Regions from separate parts of the Homo sapiens genome. Here region 1 is linked to region 2. The links are contacts of gene promoters, found by promoter capture Hi-C in human tissues and cell types (Jung and others, 2019). All regions are on one chromosome and are shown on one strand. Each heading gives the region's core, a stretch centred on a gene start or on the middle of the fragment in contact. The rest is flanking DNA. Distances are from core to core; before and after follow the strand shown.

Region 1 (2,700 bases), core at 106-2,605, 170 kb after region 2:
CCACTGCGCCCAGCCAACATGCATGATTTTGTATGCATGCTATATTTCTGTTAAAATTTTAAGCACTTATATACATATAAATATTAGGAATACAAACACATGTGGTAAAACTATAATTAAAAACAAAGGAATTTAAAAACATGAATTCAGGATAATGGTTACCTCCAAGGAGAGAAAGAAGGGAGGGGACCTAGGAGGGAATCCCAGTGGACTTCAAAGTTCACAATGATGTTGTTCCTCACGTTTCTTACATGAGTGGTGGGGAATACATAAGGGTCCATTGTATCATGATTCTTTATTACTTTATATATTTTGCAAATATTATTTTGATCTCTTCAATATTTAATAATTTTTTTTGAGACAAGGTCTCACTCTGTCACCCAGGCTGGAGTGCAGTGGCGTGAACGTGGCTCACTCTAGCCTCAACCTCCCAGGCTCACGTGATCCTCCCACCTCAGCCTCCCAGGTAGCTGGGACTACAGGTGGGTGCCACCATGCCTAGTTCATTTTTTACATTTTTTGGTAACATTTTTGGTTTCATCATGTTACCCAGGCTGGTCTCAAACTCCTGGGCTCAAGTGATCCTCCCATGTCAGCCTATCAAAGTGCTGGGATTATAGGTATGAGCCACCACACCTGGCCATAAATGTAATTTTAAAAGACATTCCTAACAATATAGTTTTTTTGTTGTTGTTTAAGTTTGGGCTTTATTTGTAAATCTGGCTCAGTGTCAACACCAAGGCCATCTACTTGATTGGACTTGTCTAGACTGCTTCTTTTCCTAATGCCTTTGTGGTGCTGTGTGATGACCATAACCCTCAGAAAAAATACTTGTGATGGACAATTTCAATACATAGTAAACTATCATTCTTCTTTATGCAAGTGGCTAAAAGGAGAAAATGGCCCTTTTCGGGGTAAAGTTTTACTGAGGCTCCTCAGGTACCTCGAAGGGTACAAACCGGGCCACTATGTCCTTTGGCTGCGTGCAGCCCATTAGCTTCCTCGGCCATTTTCCAACGTTAACAAAGGAACAATACCTAAAATACAGCCTCAGGACAGACGTGGTGCCTCACTCCCATAATCCCAGCACTTTGGGAGGCCAAGGAGGGCGGATCACTTGAGGCCAGGAGTTCAACACCACCCTCACCGACATGGTGAAACCCTGTCTCTACAAAAAACACAAAAATTAGCCGGGTGTGGGGATGCATGCCTGTAATTCCAGCTACTCGGGAGGCTGAAGCAGGAGAATCACCTGAACCTGGGAGGCAGAAGTTGCAGTGAGCTGAGATCATATCACTGTACTCCAGCCTGGGTGATGGAACAAGACTCCGTCTCAAAAAATAAATAAATAAAATAAATAAAATACAGCCACATAAGTAGCCTGTCATGTTTGATAATAAAAACATTTTTCTAGGATAAAGTACCAAGTATCTCTACTATTACATCAGAAAGTATGTACAGCTTATTATAATGGGAGTCCAGAGAGCTGCTTAGCTGAGCCCCCATTGTCACAAAGGGTCATCAAATTCAAACTTTGACGTCATCTCCAAATGAGAGCACAACAGTCTCAAAAATGAGCAAGAATGAAGATATCCCTACAACTTTATGTTGTTGCTTTGAAAAAAAAAAAAAAGAAGAAATGAAGATATTCATTATACAGCCTTAAGCATATGTCCCAATACCAGCCCACACACTTTCTTTAGTGCCCTGTGAATTAATATTTCATATGTCCTATTATTACCTTATGACTGGCACAGTTATATTGCAATGTATTCCTTGGTTTGGAATTCTAACTTATTAAACATAAATTTTTTTAATGTAACACAAATTTTATAACACTGCTTTGGTGTTTCTTCGTTTTGTAATATGAGCTTTTAAAATTTTGGGTTGGTTGTCTTTGACTTTGTAATGAAAAAAAATTGACAGATTGACAGAGCACGGTGGCTCACACCTATAATCCCAACACTTTGGGAGGCTAGGGTGGGCAGATGACCTGAGGACAGGAGTTCAAGACCAGCTTGGCCAATATAGTAAAACCCTGTCTCTACTAAAAAATACAAAAAATTAGCCAGGTGTGGTGGCAGGTGCCTGTAATCCCAGCTACTCAGGAGGCTGAGGCAGGAGAATTGCTTGAACCTGGGAGGCAGAGGTTGCAGTGAGCCAAGATTATACCACTGAACTCCAGCCTGGGTAACAGAGGGAGACTCAGTCTCAAAAAAAAAAAAAAAAAAAAAGGTGGAGAGAGGGGAAGTTCTGGAAATATCCCAAAGCTTTTTCTATCATAACTTAATATTATATTTTTATGTCTAATTAAATTTGCAGCCAGGTACAGTGGCTCACATCTGTAATCCGAGCACTTTGGGAGGCTGAGGCAGGAGGATTGCTTGAGCCTATAAGATTGAGGCTGCAGTGAGCCATGATTTGTGCCACTGTACTCCAGCCTGAGTGACAGAGCAAGACCCTGTCTCCAAAAATAAAAATAATTTTGCTTACACTGAGCATAATATGCATAGTGAAATCTGCATAGTGTGACATATTTCAAGGAATTTATTTATTTATTTATTTATGACAGGGTCTTGCTATATTTCCCAGGTTTTAATTTGCAGTGTATTCACAGGCACAATTATGTGCACTATAGCCTAGAACTCCTGGGCTCAAGCCATCCTCCTTTTTCAGCCTCCTGAGTTGCTGGGTCTAGAC
Region 2 (2,700 bases), core at 75-2,574:
AAGAAGAATTTACAGACCGGCCTTGCCTTGTTCCACGGTAAGGGGACATTGGGTTTAGGGCTGGAGGAGGTAGTCTCTGGGACTCTGGGCCCGGCGGAAGGAGGAACCGGCGTTCTAAGAGATTAGAGAGCCTTTAGTTGTTTCCTTTCTTAGGTGTTTTTTTTTCTTTTCTTTTCTTTTTTTTTTTTTTAACCTCAGTGCCACGGAATCCGTCTCTTCCAGCCCACAGTGTACCTTCTCCTGTCCCCGCCCATATCCCTCCTCCTGGAAAATTTCTCCAATGGCGCTCAGCGTTCGCACCCTTCCTCTCCGCGGTTTTCTAGTCCCTAGGCCCCAGCCCACTAGAAGCCAGGATGCCCCCTCACCCCGTCTCCCACTCTCCAGCGCCCCAGCTCCTTGCCGTCACAAGAACGAAGTAGGTCAGGGGAGGGAAGAGGCATCTTCGTGTCCTGACCTGATTCCTTGCCGTCTATTAAATATCCTACATTGCGGGTATTTTTATTCTGTCCTGGAAGAAAAAATAAAAAGATTATCTATCCCCAGAGCCTGTCAGAAGGTGGTGACAGGTGGGGTGAGCCATTTCCTCGTCTGGGGCTGGCTCTGAAGATTGATTGGGTCTGGCCCTGAGTAGGCCTGGAGGCCCCAGAGAGGCAGGAGGCCTGGGTTACCTACTCGTGGGGAGGGGTCCAGACTGTTGCAGAGTAAGGGGTAGCCAGGCCCCCTCCACCCTCACGTCTGCTAGGCTTGGGGGGCAAATCGGTGCTGGAAATGGGGGGTGGAGGGATAAGGTGGAGTCATGGAAGGGGGGTGGGATTCAGGCCCCTCTTGGGGAGAAAAGCTGGGGGTCTTTGCTGCAGGGGGAGATTTCTGGGGGTGGGGGCTGGAGGACAAAGCATCAGAGACGCACAGAATTCCGAAGAACAGCTCAGGAAGTCGCAGAGCTTGGAGGAGCTGGGGGCGGGGAACAGTCAGGGGCCCGTGACCCAGGGATGGGGCGCCTGTCCCTTCCAGGGGTCCAGTCCTCGGGCCTTCTCTCTGCAGCTTTCCCGGCGGAACGGAGGAGGGAAAGGGAGCCAGGAGCTCAGTGAGGAGCGCGGGGCGGCTGATGCTTCTAGGGGTTCTCTCAGCCCGAGGGGCTCCCGCCCTGTCCCCTACTCTGCACCCCTTGCCTTGGGAGCGGCTGCAGAGCTCTAGGGGAGCGCTCCGTTAGGGCTGAGGGCAGGCGCCGGGAGAGCCCCCAACGACGCCGCGCCCCCCGCCCCGCCCCCTGCCCCAGCTCCCCCCCACCCCCACCGACCCAGCGGCCCCCCCAGCTCCCCGCCTGCTCCCGGAGGCCGCAGCCTCCAGCTCCGCTCGCGCTCTCGCCGCTCCTGCCGGCTCGCCCGGCCCCGCGCTCCGCCGTCTCCTCGCCGCCCGCCCCTCCGCCAGCCCCGGGGACCGCGCGGCCGCAGCCTGAGCCAGGGCCCCCTCCCTCGTCAGGACCGGGGCAGCAAGCAGGCCGGGGGCAGGTCCGGGCACCCACCATGCGAGGCGAGCTCTGGCTCCTGGTGCTGGTGCTCAGGGAGGCTGCCCGGGCGCTGAGCCCCCAGCCCGGAGCAGGTAGGACTGGCGGGAGCCGGCCCGGGTGGGCCGGGGGCGGGGAGGGACGGGCAGTCAGGTGTGGGCATGGGCAGGTGTGGACGGCCTGGCGATGTCCGCGAGGGGGGCATTGTCCGCAGGAGGCCAGGAGAGCTGTGGGCTGTGGGCAGGTGGATAGGGACCCCACTTTCCCAAACACATAGGGTGTGTGAGTGACGGTGGAGACACCGATGCCCGGACCTCTCCTTCTCTCCTGGAAGGATACTGGAGGGACCTTAGGAGAGGGGGCTCTATGTGGCCATGGGCTCTGAAAGGGGACAGCGGGAGAGTCATCAGGACCCCTGATCACCCCAGGCAAGGCTGAATTCTGATGAGATGGGAGCCTGGGGAGGCCCCTGCCCCAGCCATGCCTTCTTTTCCTCTTCTCTGCCACACCCCCGACCCCAAAGCTGATCCAGGCTAGGGATAGGTGGGAGCAGCCAGGGGGATGGTGGGGACACAGCGTCTCTGCCTGGGAAGGCAGCAGCCATTCGGTCACCTTCCCTTGCCTATTTGGTGTCAGTAGAGAGGCAGTGGGCCCAGGAAGAAGCAACTTGCTGCTTCTGCACCCCCAGCCTCAAGAGTCCCCCTCCTCACACCTGCTCCCATTTGCCCTGGCAGCCTTTGGCTTTCAGCTACTCTGGCTCTAGATGGGGCACTGGGGTAGGGGGTGGAGGGAGGCGTCCCATTCTGCACACTCCTCTTCCCCCCTACCAGTTCTCCAAACTCATCTCTCCCACCTGGAAGTCCTTTCTGAGATCTACCTGGAATCCCTCATGGTATAATTTTCATAGTCTCTGTTCTCCCCTAAGCACCTAGACTTTCTCTGGGGTTGGGGAGATGGGTAATTTGCAGCCTGGCCCCTCAGCAGAGATGATTAAGAAGATAGATACCTGTGCATCATTGGCATGGGTGCCCCTCAGGTGGGGTGAGGGAGGCGCTGTTGAGGTGAGTGCTGTGGTTGACCTGCTGTGTCTCAGGAGTGTGCTGGCACCAGGCACAGTGTCAGTGGCAATGTTCTTGACTTTAATGGTCCCAGCATGTAGCTGAGACAGACCTGGGTCCCTATTGAGAAGAAGAGTA

Evidence for each region. The method cuts DNA at HindIII sites, captures the fragments that hold promoters and counts their contacts. A contact is called where the count stands out against the background at its distance.
Region 1: a fragment that was not itself captured here is called in contact with the fragment with the promoter of PLXDC1 in region 2 in 3 of the 25 tissues and cell types used here (dorsolateral prefrontal cortex, neural progenitor cells and spleen).

What each region holds. Positions count from the first base shown.
Region 1 is chr17:38,983,849-38,986,548 of GRCh38, reverse strand. No RefSeq gene overlaps it. Among named protein-coding and RNA genes, the nearest start is that of FBXO47, 18 kb to the right of the region's middle. The HindIII fragment of the contact is 7,886 bases long and covers 1-2,700 here.
Region 2 is chr17:39,150,261-39,152,960 of GRCh38, reverse strand. PLXDC1 (plexin domain containing 1) reads left to right here and starts at 1,324. Exons shown (of 14, transcript NM_020405.5): 1 at 1,324-1,599. The coding sequence starts at 1,524. The HindIII fragment of the contact is 18,756 bases long and covers 1-2,700 here.